Linked DNA regions of Homo sapiens: regions 1 and 2 are each linked to region 3. The links are contacts of gene promoters, found by promoter capture Hi-C in blood cells and fetal thymus (Javierre and others, 2016). All regions are on one chromosome and are shown on one strand. Each heading gives the region's core, a stretch centred on a gene start or on the middle of the fragment in contact. The rest is flanking DNA. Distances are from core to core; before and after follow the strand shown. Region 1 overlaps AKR1E2 (aldo-keto reductase family 1 member E2). Region 2 has its middle 13 kb from the start of AKR1E2. Region 3 holds the start of TASOR2 (transcription activation suppressor family member 2).

The links. The method cuts DNA at HindIII sites, captures the fragments that hold promoters and counts their contacts. A CHiCAGO score of 5 or more calls a contact.
Region 1: a fragment that was not itself captured here is called in contact with the fragment with the promoter of TASOR2 in region 3 in 1 of 17 cell types (erythroblasts); the score reaches 6.0 in erythroblasts.
Region 2: a contact is called between a fragment that was not itself captured here and the fragment with the promoter of TASOR2 in region 3, in 4 of 17 cell types (M1 macrophages, monocytes, M0 macrophages and 1 more). The highest score is 7.3, in M1 macrophages.

Annotation. Positions count from the first base shown.
Region 1 is chr10:4,832,966-4,836,007 of GRCh38, forward strand. AKR1E2 (aldo-keto reductase family 1 member E2) reads left to right here. Exons shown (of 10, transcript NM_001040177.3): 3 at 385-501; 4 at 2,710-2,844. Among named protein-coding and RNA genes, the nearest start is that of AKR1E2, 8.3 kb to the left of the region's middle. The HindIII fragment of the contact is 4,627 bases long and covers 1-3,042 here.
Region 2 is chr10:4,811,114-4,815,331 of GRCh38, forward strand. No RefSeq gene overlaps it. Among named protein-coding and RNA genes, the nearest start is that of AKR1E2, 13 kb to the right of the region's middle. The HindIII fragment of the contact is 3,258 bases long and covers 211-3,468 here.
Region 3 is chr10:5,682,311-5,686,718 of GRCh38, forward strand. TASOR2 (transcription activation suppressor family member 2) reads left to right here and starts at 2,528. Exons shown (of 22, transcript NM_001321783.2): 1 at 2,528-2,865. RefSeq lists enhancers at 2,082-2,321, 2,462-2,571, 3,192-3,371 and silencers at 2,622-2,881, 2,922-2,971. The HindIII fragment of the contact is 4,285 bases long and covers 602-4,408 here.

The DNA of each region.
Region 1 (3,042 bases), core at 1-2,500, 850 kb before region 3:
CGGAGTCTGTGTAAGTGAGAAACACAAGATAGAGATTCTTCTGATTTTTCGTCATATCTTTTCTGCCTGCAGGAATTTCATTTTCGTTTTTGTTTTTGGTCCCAATGAATCCAAATAACCATCAAATATCTCTTGGATTCCTGAGCTTCCCTTGAGGAGGAGTCAGGCAGAAGGATCCCAGCTTTGGAGCCTCTCCCTGCAGGTGTCCTGGAACTCTTCTGAGGATAATGTCCCTGTCCTCCCATCAGAACTTGCCGTGTTGTATTTGTGGTCATCTCATCTTGGCTATTTTGGGTTCAAGACAGTAGCTTTGTGGGGCTACAGAATGGGTGCCATGCTGGCTCTGGGTGGGCACGTGTGACGCTGGTCCCCTCTCCTTTGTAGCTGTGGTGCACCTGCCATAAGAAGTCCTTGGTGGAAACAGCATGCAGAAAGAGTCTCAAGGCCTTGAAGCTGAACTATTTGGACCTCTACCTCATACACTGGCCCATGGGTTTCAAGGTACCGTTCAGTAGGTAGTTCGTTCTGCAGTTTGCAGGACCTTCCTCCCCGTGCTCACACCCTGTCTTGCGGTGGGGAGAGCATGGACCAGCATTCAGGGCAGGGGTTCCCAGGCTGCATCTGCCACATGCTAGCTGCGGCATTTGGGCAGTCCTCTTGATATCTCTGGGCCTCAGTTAAGGAGAGGCTTGGCTTGACCTCTGAGGCCCCCACAGGTCTGTCTTTCAAGCCAGTCGCTTTTTTTCCAAGCCAAGAGAGCAGTAGATTTTTTTCCCTTAGGTTTTTAGGTGAAAGCAGTGATCAGATGAGGAAATACTGCTGCTCAGAGAAAGTTCCCAGTGAATTCCTAGGCCTTGTCTCTTCTTGCAGGTTCTGTTCTCTTTGGGGAGTAAATGCTGTTTTGCAATATGGGAGATATTTGCTTGTTCACCTGCAGCAGGGTCCAGTGGGTTGTGCTGGTAGTTGACTTTTCCACTTGGTTTTATTCTCTTAATTGCTTCACAGTGTGTCTGGAGCATGCATCTGAGCCATGGCTCTGTCACTAAGCTACCCCAGTCTGGCCGTGCAACTTCCCTACTCTAGGCAACCTGCTTCTGCCTCACACGGGTCCTGGCCAGGATGTCCCTGCATATTTGCCCTGGGCTGTGATGACAGCCTGCCTGGGCAAGGGCCTGATCACACAGTTGACACCTGTGAAATACAGAAGCCCTTGCAGGGATGTTCTTCCTACAATGGAATGGGTGACTGCTGCTCAGCAGTCTTCTACATACCAACCTGTGAGAAGGTCCCTTTATGTGTGCCACACTGTTGGTTACTGTTTTAGAGTAAAATAACAAAAAACACTTCATTCCTAGCACAGCTTTACTTAACTAAGGCTTTGTATCTAGTTTCCATAAACGATGTGGGCAGCTGTCCGTTAGTGACACTGACTAAGAGGGGAAGATACCCAGAGGGCAAAACCAGAGTGATGTCTGTGCCTTGAAATTCATTGCATGCAGAAAATCATAATTAAAACAATGGCTACAGCTGTATTACACTCATTGCCAGCCAGCATTGTTGTAATTATGTACCCAGAACTATGTTAGGTACTTTACACATATTAACTCATTTAATTCTCATGACAGTTCTACAAAGTTGACACTATTAACATCCCTCTTGGAGAGATGATGAAACTAAGATACAGAAAGTTTAAGGTTTAAGTTAGATTATTGGAGCCCAGAAGCATATGCTCAGGTCAGACATTTGTTACACTTTCCTTGCCCTCATCCTTTAGCAGATTCCTGTCTTTGGATTTCTGGGTCGTAGAAAAGGAAAAGGTCTCAGATCATCCAACAAATTACAGAAGAGAATAATGCAGCATCGTCAGCATGTCTTCTGGCCAGTAGGAACTGCTAGGCCTTGTGTGATGCTGGACAATTAGATCAGGGTCCGAGTATGAGTCCCGGGCTGCAATTTTGTGGAGGCTTGGATAAATGGCAACATGGGATGTGGCTTTAAAGTGAGACTGTTAGTTACTTCAGCTCATCATGGAAAATGCCTCTTTCATGTGTATCAGGCTGGAACATGTGACATTCTTCCACTGTTGTTTAGGAGTGTGATTAGGTGTCATTAAATAAACATGCCTATGCCATTCACCCTTAACATGCTACGTGGGAGTACATGAGGGAGGTAGCTGGATTGCACGTCAGTGCTTCTCTGAAAGATGACTTTAGGTTCTTGCCCTTTCAAGATGTATCTCTCTGCCCTCTACCTCCTGTGTACCTTTGTATTCTCACTTCCTTACCTGTCATCATGATGGGGATTCTAAGAAAGAAGACAAGACCCTAACAGTGGAGTTAGGAGAGGGTTGATTGGGCTCTATAAGACATGAAGAAAATGCACTCCTCACCCATTCTTTACCCGAAATTAGTAAACTATTTTCTGGAGGCAATGGGAGAGGACAACCTTGCATCAGTAAGGATACAGGGTCTTCCTTTCCCATCTTGTGAGAGATGAACAGTGAACATCAGGCTGGCAGAGGCTTTGCCAGCCATCCAGTCCACCAGCCATTCATCTTTTCTTAGAAAGGTGAAGACTGGGCCTGGTCACATGGCCAGGCTGGGGTTGCTTAGTGACAGGGCTGTGGCTTGGATGCAGGTCTCCTGACACATGGTTTTTTTTGTTTTGTTTTGTTTTGTTTTCACACATCTCAACTCTCCTTCTTCGCAGCCTCCTCATCCAGAATGGATCATGAGCTGCAGTGAACTTTCCTTCTGCCTCTCACATCCTCGAGTGCAGGACTTGCCTCTGGACGAGAGCAACATGGTTATTCCCAGTGACACGGACTTCCTGGACACGTGGGAGGTGAGCTGAGCCACACCACCAGGCAGCCTCATCCTGTGTGGGTCTCCACCCAGGATGCAGTGAGCCCTGAGCTGCTTGTGTTCAAAGACATCAAGGTTGTCTACCTGAGATGTGGGGTTTGTGGAGCAAAAAAGGAATCAATACCCGAAGAACTCAGAGACCTCAGTGACTTTCTTGTTACCTTTGGTTTGGTATGGT
Region 2 (4,218 bases), core at 590-3,089, 870 kb before region 3:
AGGAGCCATTCCCCCCTCTAAATGATTCAATCCAATAGGGAAGGGGACCACAGGACAGGCTTACGCTCATCAGGACTGTCCTGATTCACGAAGAAAGGGGTGGCCAGGTTCTGCCAGTGTGGATGGAGGAGCAATGCTTGTTGAGTGGACGACCAGTAATGCCTGCCAAACTCCTTCCACTGGGTTCTCCTTTCCTAGTTCTGCAGTACAAGCTTCATGGTCTCAGCTTCTGCCCATCCATCAGTGTCCTTGTTAATGGAGGTGTTCAGGACCCTCTCCCATCACTTCTTCCTCCCCACTCTCCACTCACAACTTTGGGCCTGTCCACCGCCTGAATGCGCTTGACCTGGACATCCATTTATCTAGGAGAGCTATCTCACTTGTGTTCAAATTGGTATTCTCTCCAATAGATAAGACAGAAAATCTGAACTAATCACACACACTTATACACACACAAATGCACTCACACTCAGACACACACATTCATACACAGACATGCACAGAAATACAGACACACACATACACACACACACCAACACATGCACAGACACACAGACACCCTCAGACACACAGAGACACACACAAACACACACAAACTCATGGACACACACACAATGACACAGATGCACAGACTCATTCCAAATCTTTCCTCTTGCCTTGCACTTTTATGATTAGTGAATTAAATCATAACCCACACCATTACCCAAGCCAGGAACCAGTGAATATTCCTGGCTGTTACTCCTCTCTTGAGCCCCACAGTTGCTGCAAGGAGTTGTGTCCTGCTGATGGCTCCCCTTCCACATGTCTCACCACCTTCTCCTCTCCTGCACACTCTGAGATTGTTTAGTGCAGGCCTGTACAATTGCACACAGGTGCTGCCTGTCACCCCAACAGCAGGCTTGTTCTCTCCATCTGCACCCAGAGAGAGGCTTTGCAGCTGGGGGTGCGAATGTGGCAGAATTTCCATCCTTTCCAACACACATTCATTTTATGGCCCAGAATGTGTTCTCTTCTCTCTTGGTGAATGTCCCAAATGCCTGTGAGCAGAATGTGTATTTGCTTCAATTGGGTGTGGTCACTAATGTCCCGGGCAGGGTAGAGTTGTCCAGCTCTTCTGTCTTTCCACAGATTGTCTAGGCACTGATTCTATCCATTACTGTGTTGAAATCTCTAGCTAGAATTGCAGACTTATTTCCCCTTTTCAGTTCTATCAGCTTTTGATTCCTGTATTTTGAAACTCCAATATGAAGCCCACACTCATTTAGGATTAATATGGAAGCCAGCCTTTAAATAAGAATTTTATCTTAAAATTAATATCACTCTGTCATCTTAAGAAGATGTGAGGCCTGTGAGAGCAGGTACTGTGTATTTTGTGTCTGTATTCTTTCTGTTTCACACTGCAACCATAATCGATGATGAATAAATAATGTTCCCTCTTGAAGATCTGGTCCCTGTCTCCAGGGCAGTGCTATGTAAAAAAAAAAGAGCAAATTCCTGCCTTCTAAACACTCCTCCACACCAACAAACACACTGTGCTAGGAAAGCAGCAGTGATGAAGGTGCTGGGCCTCCGGTGGAAAGGTAACACACATTTCCCATCCTCGGGAGCTTGCAGCACCGGCAGGCGGGCCGTTACACAGATAACACAGTATGCTTCTATGCCAGGGTGGACCCAGGAGTCCGTCCTCCCTGTCACTTACGAGACTGGAGTCCTGGAAAAGTTACTGAACTTCTCTGTGCCTTGGTTTATCCATCATGAAAGTCGGGTTAAAAAGAATACCCCACCCCTAGGGTGGAAGTGGGACTTGCTTGAATTGAAACAGTTGGTTTTTAAGTATTTTGCATAGCTGTTATTATTAAATTAACATCAAAAAAGTTGCCTGGTTATTTTAATATGGTCTTCACATAGGCAGTACAGCCGGCCAGATTTAGCATTTGCATTTATAACTGAGTCTCTCTTCTGCCTCCGTGAGACTTCCCAGGAGTTGCTTTGATGCTGCAGGGAGTCACACATCTCCAGATGCATCACTGGTGACTCAGCAAGCACCTGACCTGGTCCGTTACACATGGGGCTTATGTGCTTAACTCCTATGCGATGATGATTCTTCTCTAGTTCTTGGGGGTCGTTCCCTTTCTCCTACTGTACTGGCTGTTTAAAGTCAGCACTGTATGAGTTGCATACATAAGCCAAATGTCATTGACTTCTTCTTTTTTTTTTTTTTTTTGACAGTCTTACTCTGTTGCCCAGGCTGGAGTGCAGTGGTGTCATCTCGGTTCATTGTAACCTCTGCCTCCTGGGTTCAAGCAATTCTCGTGCTTCAGTCTCCAGAGTAGCTGGGATTACAGGCATGAGCCAACGTGCCCAGCTAATTTTTTTTTTTTTGTATTTTTAGTAGAGACAGGATTTTGCCACGTTGGCCAGGCTGGTCTCAAACTCCTGGTCTCAAGTGATCAACCCACCTTGGCCTCTCAAAGTGCTGGCATTACAGGCATGAGCCCTTGAGCCCAGCATAGATGTCATTGAAATTCAAGGGGGAAATCATTTGGAATGATCACAGCGACTGGTCCAGAGATGACTAACAGCTTAAAATGACCCCACCTGAAACAGCGGCGATCAGTGGAATGTCCAAGTATATATATATATATTTTTTTAATGAAGCTCTTTTGGACCAGAAACCCTAAGAATGTTTAGTCTGGAGTTCCATAATTATAAAAAAAATCTTCTGAAGTTAATCACCGTTTTTATCTGAAACCATACTCTAACTCAGTAACTCTTTCTCAGGGTTTACTTTCTCTTGAGCCACAAGCATCCATTTGTCCCCTACCAAAGGGACTAGACTTTCATGATGGATAAAAGGACACTAGTGCCAGGTAGCTTCTGCTTCTAAATTTTGGTTTAAAAAATGAAACATCTCCTTTTAGATATTCTAAAAAGTCATCTCCCCTAAAATCATGAAGCCTGGTTTATAAACTTTATAGAAGAAACTAGGTCTTTGAGGCTAACACATATTAGTGTATTAAAAAATACGGTAAACCAGCCGGGCACAGTGGCTCACGCCTGAAATCCCAGCACTTTGGGAGGCCAAGGCAGGTGGATCACTTGAGGTCAGGAGTTTGAGACAAGGCTGACCAACATGGTGAAACCCCGTCTCTACTAAAAATACAAAAATTAGCCAGGCTTGGTGGCATGCTCCTGTAATCCCAGCTACTCGGGAGGCTGAGGCACGAGAAAGGCTTAAACCGGGAGGCAGAGGTTGCAGTGAGCAGAGCTCCCATCACTACACTCCAGGTTGGTCAACAGAGCAGGACTCTGTCTCAGGAAAAAAAAAAAAAAAAAAGGTAAACAAACATTGCCTTAAACAAAAATTGTATCTTATAAGATTTTACAAGTTGCACATTATCAACACATTCTAGTTAAATGCTTAAAAATTACTTCACAATTAACCCTATGGATTTTTAAAAGAAGGAAAGCTTAGACACAAACTCAGGAGCCAGATTGTTTTCCAACCCTTGGGCCTGCCACTTACTAAGTGTACCAGCCTCCCTCGGAGTCACTCTATTCCTCGTGGAATCTGAATAGTAAGTGTACACTTGACAGAACATACGGAGTGGTAATGTGAAACAAAAATATAGAATATTTAAAGGACTTACCTAACAGTAAGAAAAAAAATAAGTTCACTTAAAAGTGTTTTTATTTTCTTATTTGCAAAACACCCCTTATTGTGGTAAGGTCTAACAATATACTATACATGTAAAAGTTTTACAGAAAATTACTGTAGCTTTCGATAATTTAATATATAACTGAAATACTTGAGATGGCATAATTCGATTTTATGTCAGTAATATCGAGTGAGACTAATCAAGATAGCAAGATTATGTTGCAAAATTAAAATGAGGAAATTGAGAGGATTTCTCAGGCTTCTGTGAGTCACTGCCTGGGCTGTATTAATAGTTTCATTGTGCTAGGTGCAGTGGCTCATGCCTGTAATCCCAGCACTTTGGGAGGCCAAGGCGGGCGAATCACCTGAGGTCAGGAGTTCAAGACCAGCCTGGCCAACGTGGTGAAACCCCGTTTCTACTAAAAATACAAAAATTAGCTGGGCATGGTGGCAGGCGCCTGTAATCCCAGCTACTCGGGAGGCTGAGGCAGAAGAATCGCTTGAACCCGGGAGGCGGAGGTTGCAGTGAGCCGAGATTGCACCATTGCACTCCAGCCTGG
Region 3 (4,408 bases), core at 1,278-3,777:
CATCCAACAGAAATGAGTGCCCATGTACACCAAGAGATGTAAATGAGAATGATCACAAAAGTATTATTTATAATAGCCAAGAACTGGACACAGCCCAAATGTCCATCAATAATACAATGGGTAAAGCAAATGTGTTACATTCACGCCTACATATACAGCAATGAAAACGAAAGAACAAGTACACCCAAAAACACAGTGAGTCTCACAAGCAGGCACAAAATTATTCACTTTATATACAGTTCAAACCACAAGCAAACTAAATGATAAAGTTTCAGGGTGCATATTTAGTTGGCAAACTTACTTTTAAAAGCAAAGAAGAGAGTACCATGGAAGTCAGAATAGTGCTTAGGCTAGGGAAGAGGGATGGGGTACTGGCAATGTTCTATTTCTTGATGGGGGTGTTGGTTTCATGAATATTTGCCTTGTGATAAATCATGGAGTTGTACATTCCGGTTTTGTGCACTATTAAAATGTTGTTGTACTTCACTCTCTACTTCCACAGTCAGCCTTCTTCTGTTCTTGAATAGGTTTCATTTCACTTCTCAAGTCCTTTGCACTTGCTTTCCCTTCTGCCTGGAAAGCTCTTCCTCCACGTATTCCAAGCTTTGGTTCTATCAGTTTTGATCTTTAGGGTTTGACCTCAGATGTGCCCATTTCAGTAAGATCTTGTAGCTCCACTACTTCTGCCCTTGGCCTCCAGCCCCCAGTCCCATCCACTAGCATTTCCAGTGAGTTTTCACAGCATGTATTGTTATCTGAGATTCTATTTTCTTGTCGTGGTGATTTACCTGTGTTTGTCACTCACCTCTGGAATAAATTCCATTATAGGCAGGGTCCTTATCTAGCTTGTTCATGATTGTAAAACCAGTGTCTATTACAGCACCTGGTTACAGTAAACAGTAAACACAATGACTGAATCTCTTGGTATTACCAGCACAGTGCTTGACTCATGATACATGTTCATTAGCACTTAATCTCTCTCATTGGTACAGTCATATGTCACTTAATGTTTCAGTTAACAACAGACCACATATCCAACAGTGATCTTATATGATTATAATAGAGCTGAAGAGTTCTATTGCCTAGTGATGTCGTAGCCATCTTAATTTCGTACAGCAACACATTACTCATATGTTTGTGGTGATGCTGGTGTAAATGAATCTACTGCACTGCCAGTCATATAAAAGTACAGCACACATGGCCAGGCGCAGTGGCTCCACCGTAATCCCAGCCCCCCAGTGGGACAAAATGGAGGTGAAGACAATGATGTTGATGATCCTGACCCTGTGTAGGCCCAGGTTAATGTGTGTTTGTGTCTTAGTTTTTAACAAAAAAGTTTAAAAAGTAAATTAAAAAAATTTTTAAATAGAAAAAAACTTACAGATTAAGGATATAAAGAAAATATTTGTGTACAATGTGTTTGTTTTAAGCTAAGTGTTATTACAAAAGAGTCTTAAAAAGTTTTTTAAAAGTTTTAAAAAGTTAAAAAGTTACAGTAAGCTAAGGTTAATTATGAAAAAATTTAAAAAAATAAATTCAGTGTAGCTTAGGTGTACAGTGTTTATAAAGTCTACAAGAGTGTACAGTAATGTCCCAGACCTTCACATTCTCATTGCTCACTCACAGACTCACCCAGAGCAACTCCCAGTACTGCAAGGTCCATTCGTGAGAATGCCTTACACAGGTGTACCATTATTTTTCATACTGTATTTTTATTGTACCTTTTCTATGTCTAGATATGCTTATACAAATACTTACCATTGTGTTATAATTGTCCACAGTATTCAGTACAATAACATATAGCATGGGTTTGTAGCCAGGAGTAATGGGCTATGGCTTATGGTGTAAGTATGTAGTAGGTTATGCTTCTAGGTTTCTGTGATGTTCACTCAAGGACCAAATTGCCTAATGAGGCATCTCTCTCATAAGGTGTCCCTACAGTTAAATGATGTTTGCATGACTATTTATCATGGGCAAGGGTAAACCTGAATTTATTGATGGTCACCTTAGCTCTCTGTGCATGTGTTATAAATTTCTAGAGATGCTTTCCTAGGGGGTAACAGCCACACCTACTATATGGATTAAAACAAGGGCAAAATTTCCAAAATGTCGCATTCGGGCCAGACAAATAAACTGTTCTTGCAGCAGCACCTGGGGAATGAAACGCTGAGAAGGGAGAAGGCGCCCGAAGGCGACCACGTGGGCCACAGCCACAGCACTGTAGGTCAGCCGAGAGAGCGTCTCCCGCCTCTTCCCAAGGGCATCTTCCGCCTCCTGTCAAGGGTCGGCAACGCGAGACACCACGCGCTCGTTGGGATCGGCCGCCTAATCAGGAGCGAGCTGTGGCCTTACGCCTGCGCAGAGGGGAGACGCGAGCGCCGCGTGGACGCTGACCTCGGTCCGCGCCTGCGCCTTGGTTTCTTCCCGGCGATTGGTTCCCATCTCTGAGGGAGACGCCTCACTTCAGTTTTCACTTTCTTTTTTTGCCCCCCCCTCCCCTTTTCTTTTCCTTTGGCCGCGAGGTTTTGCTTCCGGTTGCTAGCGCCGGTCAGAGAGAAAGTCGGCATGTTCTCGCAGGCTGCCGGGCGTCCCGGGGTTGCCTCTTGCCCGTGACCCTGACGGGAGACAGAGCGCGGGCGGCCGCGGCGTCCCTGTCAGCGCCCGCGGCGAGGACCCCGGGGCTGGGGCGGACGGCGTGCCCCTGAGGGGGGTCCCCGCGGGAGCGCGGAGCCGGCGACTGGTGCTTCCCACGTGCGCCGGTGTCGCGAGGGCCCGGGAGGACGCAGAGCACGGCCGGGAGAAGCATGGGAAGGAGGCCGAGCCGGGATCTCAGGTCCTCGGGGGCGGCGGCCACGCCAAGGACGGGTAAGTCCCTCCTCGGCCTGGGCGCCCGGGAACCCTGCGAGGAGGACGGCGGGTCCCCGAGGCCGAGCGCTCGGGCAGCTGCCGGGGCTTGGCTGCGAGGGTCGACGCGTTCTCCTTGCCTTTTGCCGCGCTCCGGGTGAGGGGGTGGGAGGGGTCGGCGCCTTCTAGATGACTCAACCTTCTGTCCTGCGCTACAACCTGTGGCCGCGCTCGGTGTCGCCGGCAGGGAGATCCTAACCGTGTCATCTTGCCCCTTTCTGAGGCGTTTCGTTTGCGTCGCCTGTCAGGGGACAGCTGCGTCCTCAGGGATATGCTGATAAGTTCTTGGCTGAAGTTTCCGTCTTCGGGTTTGCACCGGCTGGGAAATCATTTCCTGCGGGTTCTGCGTGAAGCCTGCTGCTACTCGAGACTTCATGGCAATGCGCCACCTTTTCTTTTTAGGGTAAAACAGGTCTCTCCGAAGGGAGGGTCATTTCAGCAGCAAGCGCAAGCCGCGTTGGGATAACTTGGTGCGAGCAACACAGAAGTTTGTCTGAAGGCGGCGCCAAGCAGCGTTTCGTGGGAGAACTGGGTTGATGACTGAAATTTTGAGGAAGATTACTTTGGGAATTCTCAAGTTTCTCTTAGTCGCTTCTTGTCTATTTGAAATCTGTAACTTTAAACAAACCACGCTTACTCTTCCTTATTCTCCCTGTAAGGTACAATTAGAATAGAAAAGTTTATGAAAGTGTATCCAAAACTTAAATATGTGGCGTACAAGTGTATGGTATTATTGGAATGGCATTCGCGATCCTAGAGTCTACAGTGTTCCCTGAATAAAACTAGGGGTGAGCCTGGCGGTAATCCTGCCTAGGAGGTTTATAGCAAAGCAGTGTCCCCTAACGGTGCAAGAATACCCTTCTGTCGAAAAACTGCCTTATAGGAATGGGTGACTGTATGCGGTATGTCCTGTACTGTACATCAATAAATAACTAAGCCAGGCCAGAAAAAGGGTGACAAAAGGTCCACAATTATGTTAAGGAAGACCAAGACGGTATATTTGAAGTTTTGTGTATACAGAACATTTGCCCAAATGTAACTAATTTTTTTAAAGGGAGATTATAAGCATCTCCTGTGGTCCAAACATAGTTGTTAAAATGGGTTAAAATCGGTGAAGTGCCTAAGAACTTGACTGAGACATGGTGTTTGTTAAATACAGTATACTATCTATTCAGTAAAAATAGATCAATATGGCATGTATTTATCAAGTGAATTTCATTTTTCTGTTGGTAGACATTCAAGTTATTTTCAAGATATCCCTATAACTGACAATACTGCAGTGATTATCTCTTGCTGTTATAAACAGTGCTTCAGGTGGTCATGATAGTATTTCTGTAGAATTGACTCCTTATGAGAGTGCTGGATAACCATGTTGCTAAATTGCCCTGAAATGATTGTACCTTTTTATGTTCACTCGCTCAAAAGATGTGTTTTTATCTCCATGCTAGCCAGCACTGGATGATAATGGTATTTTTAAAATATCTTAGCCACCTAGTAATTGAAA